4 separate regions of the Homo sapiens genome follow, and regions 1, 3 and 4 are each linked to region 2. The links are contacts of gene promoters, found by promoter capture Hi-C in blood cells and fetal thymus (Javierre and others, 2016). All regions are on one chromosome and are shown on one strand. Each heading gives the region's core, a stretch centred on a gene start or on the middle of the fragment in contact. The rest is flanking DNA. Distances are from core to core; before and after follow the strand shown. Region 1 has its middle 140 kb from the start of TM2D1. Region 2 holds the start of NFIA-AS1 (NFIA antisense RNA 1). Region 3 has its middle 120 kb from the start of NFIA-AS2. Region 4 holds the start of PATJ (PATJ crumbs cell polarity complex component).

Region 1 (3,362 bases), core at 711-3,210, 330 kb before region 2:
GATGAGTCAAGGAATCCAGACTTAAATCTGCTATGGATAAAGAAGAAAAAAATAAGTTAAAGGAATACAGGCTTATGAAAGTCATTTACATTAAGCTTCTGTTACATGGGAAGGTAACAGGTTTTTAGGGCTTAGGTTTTTAGGGTGGCCAGTAACCTAAAATATGGGAGCCACCAGAAAGAAACTTTACCAGCATGGTTTATATATGCTTGCTGTTCAAATGACAAAGAAAACAAATCTTTCTCTTGAGTGTTCTAGCCTCTGCAAAGCATCCCCTTGTTCTACCTATTAAACCTCTGCCACAAATATAAAAATAATGTGGTGTTGATTGGTGTAGGGGGGCAGAAATGTGAAATTGATTTACTTTAGAAAGGAGAGAGATCTACTAGCCACCAGAGGAATAAATCCAGAAAGCGGGGAATGGGGCTGGGGTGAAAAGACAAGTGTTCTTGTAGTTGAGCTTAAGAGAGTTTGGGAGGAATATGGAAAGAGGGAGGAAAAAAATTAGGAGGAGAGAGCCATAAACGTGTGATATATATGACTTGAGAGAGATAGGGAAAGGCAATTTTAAGATGTTTTGCTGTGCATTTGGGATTCCGTTTGATAGGCTTCAAGAGAGTTCAGTAAAGATTAAAATTGCCTTACAATTATTTGTATTTCTTCGACTGGAAAGCCGCCTAAGTCACAAGCACACACTGTTGGTGGAATCAACCCCCTTTCCTTTCCCGTTTGTCTAGGTGGTAAGGTAGGACTCAGATAATTTCTTTCAGGAAAAGCCATCCCAGTGTGTCCAGTAGGTTACACAAAACATAATTAGCATGCTAACCCTCATATGCAATTTCTCATTCCTAATGGGCAGCCTCAGACTTTTTGAATTTTTTTCTGTAAGTTCACCAAAAATTAAGCATCACAGTAAGACAGCTCTCTGATCCGCAGCAACTTGGGATGGTGATATCACACTGTTTTCTTGTATCATCCCCTGTGCTTATGCTGGGTGCATGACAGGGCTAGGAGGTGTTTGATGGAATTGGGGCTCCTAGTGGCCTACTCTCCTAGTGTCTTACTTGAGACAAGAACTGTTATGTCTTGGAGAAACTTATATGAGTTTGATCCTGGGGTCATGACGATCCCACAGGCCAGCCAGTTCATGCTTCCATGCTTGTATGCATACTTTTCCTTCTGCTGGACTCCCCTTACCCTGACCCATCTCTTTGCCAGCCAACCAGACTTCTGGTCTTCTTAGCAAATTCCTACTCTAAAGTGAAGACTGTTGACATGTCCTGGCCTCTGTGAAACCTGCTCTGGCCACTCACCCACACCCTCTTGTACATAACTCACCCCTAGTACAGCTATGTTGTGTTCCTATCTACCTTTCTTATTTTTTTCTTGTTTATTATTATTATTTTTGAGACTGAGTTTCGTTCTTGTCACGCAGACTGGAGTGCAATGGCATGATCTTGGCTCATTGCAACATCTGCCTCCCAGGTTCAAGTGATTCTCTCGCCTCAGCCTCCTGAGTAGCTGGGATTACAGGCACGCGCCACCATGCCTAGCTAATTTTTGTATTTTTAGTAGAGGCGGGGATTCATCACATTGGCCAGGCAGGTCTTGAACTCCTGACCTCAGGTGATCCGCCTGCCTCGGCCTCCCAAAGTGCCGGGATTACAGGTGTGAGCCACCATGCCTGGCCCCTATCTACCTTACTACAGTGAAGACACGAATTATCTTTCCATCTTTGGTGCCCAGCACAGTGCCTGATACGCAGGTGATGCTCAGTATATGACTGGACAAAGAGCTGTTATGTGACTTGTCATTCCATGCTAGGGAAGCCCAGCTCTCGAAAAGCCATCACTTTCCAAGAACTCTACCTAGAATTCAAACTAAAGGAAGTGCCAGGGAATTCAATCAATAACTCATGCTACTGGTTACAATATGTATGTCCCAGTCTTCAATTGCATTCTTGGAAGGAAGCTCACTCAAATTCACAGAAAATGGAGGAAAACATCCCAGTGAAATGACTTTCTGTTCATTAGAGCTGCAGGAATATGGTTCTCAAAGCCTCCGGTAATGGAAATTTCTGTCCCTATACTTCTGTTTCTGCCATGAATTATCCTTTGAATTAAAACATATATATATATATATAAACATATATATAAACATATATGTAAACATATATATATAAAATAGTACTCAATGCTCATTAAAGAAAATTCACAAAATAGAGAAAAGCAGAAAATAACAAAATAGTTTTCAATCAGTCTCACTATTTACATAGTGTAACATTTTAGAGTGTGAATTACTCTCTTACTTATGGAATTTAATAAAAACCAGATGACAGCTAGTGCTGTCTGCTAAAATCAGGGCCAGATTCACTAGAAAACACATAGGTGGATTTCATAGTTGGTTCCTGCAGCCACATGCAGGGAGTGCCTGTGGGCACACCCTGGCAAGCAATACTGGGCGGGGGAGCTGAGTTCCCGGAAAGGGTGAATTAGCACGGTTGGGTGCCTTTGCGTGATCCTTATGGGGCTTTGTACGGTGCCAACCCCTGAAGTCATGACAAGCCTCAGACCATAGTTCCTTCCAGATCCCATTCATACAATTACTAGTCAATCCTCCAGGCTTCAGTGATGGACACGAAGCCCTTCGTAAAAATCAGACCTCCCTAACAGCCTCGTGAGCTTTGTTACCTGTTTCCTAGACTGAACTTGCCTTGTGCTGCCACAATCCATGAACACTGGCATCCAGCACAACACTTTTCCTTCGGACCCTTAGTGGCAACTCAAGCACTATCACTTGTTAAGGTAATGGGACACACAGCGCACCAGAATGAAAAAGAAAACATGGCAGAAAGATGAAACCTTGTTGAAGTAAACAAATCAAGGCAGCTTTCAGACTGAGAGAGTGGCCCACCAGGATGCCTTGCCAGAGAGTTGGCGCTTCTTTATGTGCATGGGATGACCAGCCCTGAGAAAGCACACGCTGACTTGACACTACAATGGATTTATGCATGTGCATATATACTTGTTTTATTTAACCTAAGAAGTATTTCTGAGCCCAGAGTAATGAATCAGCACTGTATGTAGACAGAGTTTACCTGTCTCTTTCCCAGGTACTTTAGCACTCTTTGCCAGGTACTGTACTAGTAGCTGGGGACACAAAGATGCATATATGCATATGACAGTCCAGCGAGGGAGGCAACTGTGCAACTGTGTGGAGGGAAAGGGATCGCATATTTATCGAATGCTTACTCTGTGCCAGGCATTGTGCTAGGTGTTTTATAAAATTAGCACATTAAGTCTTCTCAACAAAATGTGAATCAGGCATATTTCTTTTTATTTACAAAAGAAGAAACTGATGCT
Region 2 (3,113 bases), core at 308-2,807:
CCCCTGGGATCTAATGAAATATACAGCCTCTGGGCTTCTTTCAATTTGGACTTTCAGATCGCTAAGCCAGTGAAAAGGGGATCCTAGCTGTCACAAACGTCACATGGTCAGGGTCACCTGCTGCTCGGGGGTTCTCATGCCAGTTGTTGACATAATAAGCCCCCCTTACACTTTAATTACAATTCACAGTGTGCAAACTATGCAATCTGCTTTAAGGCAGACTGTCTTTTAAATCAACACTAAAATTCTACTACTAATATGGCAATGCAATGTAGCAGAGGAAGGGTGTGTCCACATGACTAACTATATGCAGATATCTGCCGTTTGGGAGACAGTGGGTAGCATTTGCCAAAATATAAAATGGTGTTGCTGACCCCAATTCTGGGAGATGGTACTTGAATCTTACTGTGCTCTGAGACTTCTTTCCATAGGCCACAAAAAGGTAATGCAATATACTTCATGTGTAGCATTTTACATTTGTATAACTACTATTTTTTTTCACATGGCTCCATAACTGTTCTATGTACTAATCTTGCCTATCCAACAGAAGGAGTGTTGAAGAACAGTGAATTTCTACTTCCCTATTTCTTCCCCTTTAAACCTAGGGCAGTGCCAGTGATGTTTAACACATGCTTCTAGAGTTGTGTCAATGCTCTATCATTTACTGGATCCTTGTATTTTGCTAACTACAGACCTGTGTAAGCTATATTTTTGCAATCAAAACATGAAAGGTCATTTTAAAACAGAGCCCATTTAAAATGATATGACAATGCAGGGAGCTGTTTAAAAAGTGCTAACACATAATTATAGTCTACAGTTTTCTCCAAAAACAACAGTGGAAATTAGTTACAATTCTATTACAGACAACTGCTATAAACTTAGGTGGGCTAACCTCTGAATGAACTATCCCAGTACTCTGGGAATTGCAATCTCATTTTCAGTGCCACAAATGACGTAAGATGGAACACACAAAACAAACCCACACAAAGTACTTTATGTTTATGAAGTCTTACTCAAACACCTTAGCTGAGCTAACCAGTATGTCTCACTGTAAAACACCACCACCACCAGTAACAACAAAATAAATAATCAAACAAAATAGAAGAAATCCAAATAGAAAAAAAAAGTTTTAAAAATAATAATGCCTATACTTGCTTTAATGAAGGATGTACCTGAATTACAAATGCCATCATGACAGATTAAATTAGCCAATAATTAGTCACTGCTTTATTTTTTTTTAGTGTCAAACAATGGTAGATACCAAGACAAGTAACAACAAAAGGCAAAAGAGTTTATTTTATTTAGACGTGGTCATTCTAACATAAGGAGAAGATGCATTTTCCTTTCAAAAATTGAGGTCTCTTTGGGCAAACTTTCAGTCCTTTGGCTATTAGGGTTTGTCTTCATGAAGGCAGACATAAAGCAATTCTGTTCTCTTCCTTATTTGAACACTTTCAGTCTTCACCTGGCTCTCTGCCACCCCAGCTAAACCACTTGACCTCTGATTACATAACAGTCCCCATCTGTGAGCTCAGCCATCCTCAGGAGATAGGAGGGGCCATGAGAAGCTCAAGTTCACCATGAGCCACAGCAGTAAGCCATGCTTTAGCCTCTGACCTGTGCTCCAATTTTGGTACAATGATTTCTGCCATGTTCTCCAACAGGTAAGCTCTACCTCAAGGACTAACTTCTGTACCTGTATTTGGTCAAGTGCCCTAGCTCATCTGGAACTGGAGATGTTGACTTGCTTTTCCCTACCTGCCTCCCAAGAACAAAATTCTGGCACGGAAACCCAGGCTAGCACGTGGAGCCCTATGACCCACTGACAGACTTCTCTGACACTAACCTTCTGCCTGGATTACTGTCATCTGCTTATGTTCTCTATTTCTTGGTTCTGTCCAACTTTTGGGACATTGAACTGCCAGTTAGACTTCCATGTTGTATAACACTCCACTAAGCTTACCAGCCAGTGCCTATACTCAGAGCATTTGGAACATGGCTGGACTGAACTTCTTTATGGAACTTCAAAACTACCAATCCCAGAATATCAACCTTCACGTAATTTCAGGTCCTGGCCCTTTACACATCTCATCCCAAGATATAAACTCTATCTGCCAATTCCCTTTTTTTCCCTTGGTAGGTAGGAAACAAAACATCTCTAAAACTCTGTAAAGAGTAGGAATACAAAATAGAATAGAAGTTACCTTATCCAGTACTGTTAGGGCCAGTTGTTGATTGGTTAATTTGAAAAAATGGATGAAGAAGATACTCATTAATGAGACATATGCACCTTAAACATTTTAACTTTGAGCATGTGTATGTACATTCTTTGGCCAATCTTTTTATGCAGAGGCAAAAATTTAAATTTAATAATGTCTGTTAATAATTGGAGCTCCACAGCATCTTTCTTATATAATGCGTATCTATAATGCATCATAAAAGATTTCCAGTTCCATTTACTTTAAGTAGTGGGAGAATTTAAAGATATTTCTAAAATAATCTAACAAAACTCTTATTTTTACAACCTTCTCTCATCTTCTGTAGTTATCTCACTGACATGTAATCTGACAGAAATTTTTGTAGCTTGCCTTTACTGATTCTTTCCAAGGCACTGGGTTAGTTTCATAGAAATAAAACTTTTCCATTTTGAACTTGCATGCCATTGGTTCACATAAATTTAATTAAATTACACAATGGTGATACAAATAAGACTAGTATAAACAGGTCCGGAATAACACAACTGACGTGGTAAGCACACAACTGGTAAAAACAATAGTGCTAGGATGTGGTAGTAGGTAACTGTTGGCCATGAAAATTCAACATGCCAAAGGAATCAGTATATTACAAAGAAAACAAAAAGTCTTGGTTCATCTTGCAAGCTGGTTAATACAGAGTTTCTACTATGAGGGTCTATCCAAAGAAAATATAATCCAAATATACATTGAATGGATATTGTGAGTAGGAATTGATGTTTGATGCATAATGCTTGATGCTGTGATACAATGTTGAAAAAGACATCTTTCCCAGCATTCTGGTATAGCTCTAATTTCTAATATCAAAAAGTAATTAGAAATAATTATAAGAAACTCCTCATTGGAGTTACTGTATTTTAA
Region 3 (3,397 bases), core at 201-2,700, 400 kb after region 2:
ATATTGTTATATAAAGCTCCTGGGAATATTAAGTGCCGAAATATACTTATTTATTAAAAATAGTTAATGACAATTTCAACTGCTTTGAGCTATTAATAACATTTGTGATAAGATAAATATGATAACATTTTGAACTGCTGTGTTCATTGCCATAATGACTGCTTTGGGAATTATCAGTCAAAAAATATTTTCTGTTAATAGATCAATGAGGAAAGAGAAAGTCATATTTGTGAGAGCGAGAGTCGAAAGCTGCTGCCAGAACTCCTCAAAATAATAATTACAGTTAAAATTAAGTGCCTGCAATGACACAATGCTGAGTACTTTACATGCATTGTCTCATCTGATCATCACTTCAAACCTATGAAGCAGCTACTGTCATTCATTTTTATAGATGGAGAGACTGAGGCTTAGAGGGGTAAAGTTAATTCAAGTTGCACAGACAATAGGAGGTACAGTCATGGCTGGAACCCAGGAGAGTCTAATGCCAAAGTTTCTGTCATAACCACTCTGCTTTTGGAAACATCTGATGAAAAGCAGAGATTCATATTTCAGGGCCCAAAACTGTTCCTGGTGGCTGGCACAGTGGCGTATCATTCTGAGTTGAGCTCTGTAGAAGTTTCCAGTTAGAAAAATGCTATTGCAACTGCCTATATTCACTCTTGAGTCAGTTTCTCAGAAGAAAGCCAGTGAGAACTACAACCAAGATTGTGTCTTGAGAGTTGTCTTATTAGGAGTGGTCTTGTATGTAATCTCTCTGTTACTTGGGTATGGGCACGTGGATGTGGCTATACTAGGGGTGGAAAAATGGGAGTATGTTTGGCTGTGTGATTGGGATAATATGTTGTAATTAATAAAATCTGTTTGGTCTCTAAGTATTATTTATAGACATGGTAATAAAAAATCAAACTATTACACACTCATACACAATAGTTTCAATTTGGTAATTGTGTGCGCATATGTATTTATTTTCAAAAAAGATGGGGAAGAACTATACCAAGATATTCAATAGGTATCTGCCTCTAGGTCAAAGAAATAATGGCAAATATTATTTTATCTATATTTCTATTTCCAGAATTTTAAATGATGTTTATGTAATTATGCATAAATAAAATATATGTGATTTGATGCTACATACCAAAAGACTTAAAACTCTTCAAATTCTTCAAATTCTTTTTTTTTGAGACGAAGTCTTGCTCTGTCGCCCAGGCTGGAGTACAGTGGTGCGATCTTGGCTCCCTGCAACCTCCGCCTCCCGGGTTCAAGTGATTCTGCTGTCTCAGCCTCCCGAGTAGCTGGGATTACAGGCATGCGCCACCACACCTGGCTAATTTTTTGTATTATTTTAGTAGATATGGGGTTTCACAGTGTTAGCCAGGATGGTCTCAATCTCCTGACCTCATGATCCACCCATCTCAGCCTCCCAAAGTGCTGGGATTACAGGCGTGAGCCACTGCGCCCAGCCAAAAATCTTCAAATTCTTAAACTCAATTCTACCTCTAGTATACTACCATACACATTGTTCAACCATTATATACACGGATATATGTTCATTTTAGTATTATTTGAAGTGGTGAACAAATTTAGAAAAAAATCTTCTGCATGGCATGACTACTTCAGAGCATATTATGTAGTCATGAAAGAAAATGTTATTTACAAATGGAAAATGCTTATGCTATAATATTGTGAAAAAAGCATGAGACAAAATTGAACATACAGAATGAGCACAATTTGGTGAAAACCCAACAATCTGTTCTTTAAGAGACAGAAGACATATTCCAGTGTTAAGAGTTGTTTATATAATTGGTAGGATTATAAATTTTTTCTCCTTTTTTGTTTCTGTGCAATTTCAAATGTTCGTTTAATTAATGTTAATAAATAATAAACAATGTTAACAAAAGTTCATTAATAAATAATGAAAACAACTTTGATATTAAAAAACCATTGAAACTGGAAATCTATTGGCTGGTGATTAGGCTTAAAAACTCCCTCTCCTTCCATAGCTCATTTGTGGGTACCTTCATCTGTTTCCTTTTATGGTTATCTGGGTGTTTTCCAGATTAGGCACAAGAACTTTAATGAAAATGCAAAGAACACTGAGCTGGGAATCAGGAGATGTGGATTGTAGCCAGGGCCATGCCATTAACTCACTGTGTGCTTCGGGGTGAATCCATTTTCCTCCCAGGGCCTCAGTTTCTGTGTCTATAAAATGAGGAGCTCTGGTTCCCTCCCACCCAACACAACTCAACACACACAGTTCTACTTTTATGGTTTTGTTATTGGGTTTACTGGAAAATTTTAAGTGAAAAATTATTCCTCTGTTAGTTAAAGTTTGAAAAACCGTTGGAATGGATGATCTAGATTAGTATAGATGACTAACTGCTTTTAGATTGTAGCTATTGTTTATATCTCTCTTTAAAAATTTATTTTTTATTGTGTTGAAAAACATAAAATCTACCTTATTAACCATTTTTAAGTGTACAGCATAGTATTGTGAACTATATACACATTGTTGTACAGCAGATCTCTAGAACTTTTTCATCTTGCATGACTGAAACTCTATGACCATTGATCAGCAACTCCCCATTTTTTCCTAACCCCATCCACTTTGAGGTTTTTAATTACCGATCCAATTTTCTTACTAGTTATAGGTTTGTTCTTACTAGTTTAGGTTTGTTCTTTTTATTTCTTCAGCATTCAAACTTGGTAGGTTAAATGTTTCAGGAATATCCATTTCTTCCAGGCATATAATTTGTTGGCATATAATTTTTGTTAGTTATATCTTACAATTATTGTTATTGATGTAGCATCAATTGTAATATTTCCTCTTTCATTTTTGATTTTATTTAGGTCTCCCTCTTTTTTTCTTAGTATAGCTAAAGGTTTGTCATTTTTGTTGATCTCTTAAAAAGCCAACTCTCAGTTTCATTGATTTCTTTCTGTTGTTTACTATTCTCTATTTCTGTTATTTCTGTTATAATCTTTGTTTTTTCCTTCATTTCTGCTATCTTTGGTTTTAGTTTGCTTTTATTGTTCCTTATAGTTCTTATAGTTCCTTAAGATATAAAGTTAGGTTATTTATTTGAGATCTTTCTTCTTTTTTAATGTAGGCATTTATCACCACAAACTTTCTTCTTAGTATGACTTTTGCTTATTTGCATAAGTTTTGGTGTGTTGTGGTTTTGTTTTTATTTGTCTTAAGATATGTTCTAGTTTTCCTTTTAATTGCTTCTTTGGTCCCTTGGTTGTCCAGAAGTATATGATTAACTTCATGTACTTGTGAATTTCCCAGTTTTCCTTCTGTTATTGATCTCTAGTTTTCATTCCATTGTGGTTGGAAATTGGTATGATTTCAGTCTTTTCAAATGTGTTAATACTTGTTTGGTAGCCTAATATGTGA
Region 4 (3,166 bases), core at 667-3,166, 490 kb before region 2:
TCAAGAAGGAACTAAAATAACCACCCAAGAAATTCTTTCTTTAGGAATGCAGTAATTCAGATAAGATAAGATAAGATAATCTTTTTTCCTTTTTTTTTTTTTTTTTTTTTTGAGACAGGGTTCTTGCTCTGTCACCCAGGCTGGAGTGTAGTGGTGCAAACACCACTCACCACAGCCTCCATCTCCTGGGCTCAAGCAATTCCCCTGCCTCAACCTCCCGACACACCTGACTATTTAAAAAGCTTTTTCTGTAAAGACAGCCATGTTGCTCAGGCTGGTCTCCAACTCTTGGCCTCAAGCGATCCTCCTGCCTAAGCCTCCTAAGTAGCTGAGATAACAGGCATGAGGCAGGTTGCCAGGCCTGATAAGATGCTCTCCATAACACCTGCCCAGTAATGGCATCTTCAACAATGGCCAACTCTGGCTTTCAGTCTGCAAAACCAATAAACTCTGTTTTCACGCAGCTTATCTGCACTTACTTTGCCAATAAAAGTTTCCTTTTACCCTCCCCTCTTCCATGCATATATGGCTTGCCAGGCCTGTGCACCTCGGGCTATAACGCTCATTTCTCATTCCCAAATAAATTCAACACATTTGGAGTGTTTTGTTGTTGTTGTTATTGTTAACATCTTAAAGGCCATTAGGGGCCCTAAAAACATCAAAGCTCACTTTAGCTAAAAGGCTCAATCTCACCTAACATTTTCTAATGCTGCAAACAGATTTAAGTTTTTAACCGCTGCCCCTGCCTCCACTCCTTTCAAATAGATGTGTGCAAATTAATTTGCAGCCAATAGGAATTTAGCCCAGAATGTGGTAGTATCATCCTCAGTGGAACCGACATTGTCCTTCTGGGTTTCCAAAGGCTTCTGCCTTCCTTTAAGAAACACTTGTCGCGCACCTACCAATAGCCAGACCCTAAATGCAGTCGAAAAATAAGGCCCTGAAAGGGGCACCCTCTAAATGGCAGAGGCAAGCCAGTAAACAACCAACTGGAATTCAAAGTGACAAGAGCCACTTGGAAATATGACAAAGTGCCAAGTGAAGGGGTGTTCACTTAATTCGGCCTGCGTGCGGGACGGCTGGGGCGCTTTGGAGAGTGGGAGTGATCTGAAAATGCTTTCCTGAGCTTGATTTAAAAGCAGGAGTCCAGGAATTTCCCCTAAGGCTGGAAGCACTTTCCGACAGAACCTCCCCATCTACGCAGCAAGGCTGGCAGAGCCCAGGGCCTGACCGCTGGCTTGGGAACCTCCGCTACGGGATGACCAGGCGCCGCGACGCGGCCGGGCCCAAGTCGCCCCCTCAGCCCGGCTCTGAGCACCCCCTCCTCTTTGTCCCCTCACCCCGTTCCCTCCTTCCACGGCCACCGATGGAGGGAAAGACTCCGCCCAGCTCTGGGAGCGAAACAGGGGCACCGATCTGGGCGCAAAATAGGATCCGTGCCACCCCCGAATACCAGTGGGCCGAGATTCGAGGCCCGAAAGGCCTGGGGAGGCGGGGCGGCGCCCCTCCCTGCCCGCGGCCTCGGCGAGCCCTGCGCGGCGGGGCGGGGACCACCGTGGGGTCACCCGGGCCCGACGCAGGAGGACGGCGCCCCCGCCCCGCCTCCCGGGTCAGCGCGGACGCACGCCGCGGGCGCCCCATCCTCGCCGCGGCCCCTCTGAGCGCCCGGCGGCGCCCTCCACCTCCGGCTCCCACCCACTCCAGGCGGGCGGGCGGGGAGAGCGCGGGGGCAGGGCAGGCAGGCCCGGGAAGCCCCGAGGGAGCTGCCCCCGGCCGGCCTCCAGGCGCGGGGACACCCAGGGGCGAGCGCGCACTGCACAGCCGGGACCTCACGCTTTACCTGGTGCGCTGGAGGAGCAGGTGGGAGCCCGGGTCGGGCGGGCTCGGTGTCGGCCCTGCCTCACCTGGGCGGAAGTGAGAGGCCCAGGGTGACCGCGCCTCACCTGGCAGGCCCTCCCCTCGCCCCGACTCTCCCCGCCCGGGGCGGGGCACCGGGGTGGCGCAGGGGGCGGGGGAGGGAGCCCGGGGCCGCGGGAGGCGGGCTCCAAGGAGGGAGGACGGTTGCCCTGGCTGTTTACGTGCAGGTGAATTCCTACCGGGCGCGGGATGGCCAAGGGCCTGGGAAAAGTGGGCTGTGGGGGCGGGGTGGCGGATCAGACCGCGCGTGGTGGGGACAGCCGCCACTGACGGGGAGGGAGATCCGGACAGACCGGTGTGGTTGGAGGCCTGCGTGTAGAGCGAGACCCAAGATCAAGGAAATTGAGGAGGATATCGATGAAAGCGTTGGGTCAATCCGCTTAACACTTTGTCTTTTTGCCCCTTTCCTTTCCTGTTCTCTCATCCCTCCTTTGTTTTCTCTATTCGCTGACGCAAAATAAAATATTCTAAAACGTGTAAATGTGGGAGTCATTATTTTCTTCTCATTTAGTGGAAGAAAGAAATCCAGCAGTATTTGCCTGCTGTATGCTAGGTGCTAGCTTATGCAATGTCTCATTTACTCTCTGAAGAAACTAATGAGGAAACCGTGCACCCTGTAGGTTGACTGGCCCAAAGTTTGGAACACAGGCAAGGCATTTTGACTCTAACTACAGTGATGATTTCACTATACGTTAATTTTCTTTTATTTGTGATGTCACACCTTCGAGAAAAATATGTCCCGATAGCCTTCTTCCACTCCCTTTAATAACTTTAGGCTTTTGATGATAGGGGTTTTACTTTGCCTGATACAGTCCACACATTAACGATAAAGAGAATCAATCTTCAGGTATCTTATTCATAGAGTACATACAGTAATTGTTAAACACTGTGATTGATTGTGGGAAGATGTGTAAAATGGTATCCCTGTCCCCAGGAAGATGAGGAATAGATACAAAACAACTACAACATAAAGACTTTCAGGCGGGGCGCGGTGGCTCACGCTTGTAATCCCAGTACTTTGGAAGGCCGAGGCGGGTGGATCACCCGAGGTCAGGAGTTCGAGACCAGCCTGACCAATATGATGAAACCCCGTCTCTACTACAAATACAAAAATTAGCCGGGTGTGGTGGATGCGTAGTCCCCTCTACGCAGGAGGCTGAGGCAGGAGAATCACTTGAACCCAGGAGGCAGAGGTTGCAGTGAGCCAAGATCCTGCCACTGCACTCCAGCCTGGGTGACAGAGAGAGAC

What was found. Contacts are between HindIII fragments. The CHiCAGO score rates a contact against its expected background, and 5 or more counts as called.
Region 1: a contact is called between a fragment that was not itself captured here and the fragment with the promoter of NFIA-AS1 in region 2, in 1 of 17 cell types (M2 macrophages). The highest score is 5.4, in M2 macrophages.
Region 3: a contact is called between a fragment that was not itself captured here and the fragment with the promoter of NFIA-AS1 in region 2, in 1 of 17 cell types (monocytes). The highest score is 5.6, in monocytes.
Region 4: the fragment with the promoter of PATJ here is called in contact with the fragment with the promoter of NFIA-AS1 in region 2 in 9 of 17 cell types (M1 macrophages, monocytes, M0 macrophages and 6 more); the score reaches 11.8 in M1 macrophages.

The regions. Positions count from the first base shown.
Region 1 is chr1:61,585,004-61,588,365 of GRCh38, reverse strand. No RefSeq gene overlaps it. Among named protein-coding and RNA genes, the nearest start is that of TM2D1, 140 kb to the left of the region's middle. RefSeq lists an enhancer at 1-605. The HindIII fragment of the contact is 3,726 bases long and covers 98-3,362 here.
Region 2 is chr1:61,251,962-61,255,074 of GRCh38, reverse strand. It overlaps NFIA-AS1 (NFIA antisense RNA 1), which reads left to right and starts at 1,557. Exons shown (of 4, transcript NR_104180.1): 1 at 1,557-1,664. All of the region lies in intron 2 of NFIA (nuclear factor I A), which reads right to left. The HindIII fragment of the contact is 2,782 bases long and covers 1-1,960 here.
Region 3 is chr1:60,850,882-60,854,278 of GRCh38, reverse strand. No RefSeq gene overlaps it. Among named protein-coding and RNA genes, the nearest start is that of NFIA-AS2, 120 kb to the left of the region's middle. The HindIII fragment of the contact is 4,630 bases long and covers 1-3,397 here.
Region 4 is chr1:61,741,230-61,744,395 of GRCh38, reverse strand. It overlaps PATJ (PATJ crumbs cell polarity complex component), which reads right to left and starts at 1,916. Exons shown (of 44, transcript NM_001350145.3): 1 at 1,841-1,916. It overlaps PATJ-DT (PATJ divergent transcript), which reads left to right and starts at 1,612. Exons shown (of 1, transcript NR_185910.1): 1 at 1,612-2,398. RefSeq lists a silencer at 1,455-2,164. The HindIII fragment of the contact is 6,850 bases long and covers 245-3,166 here.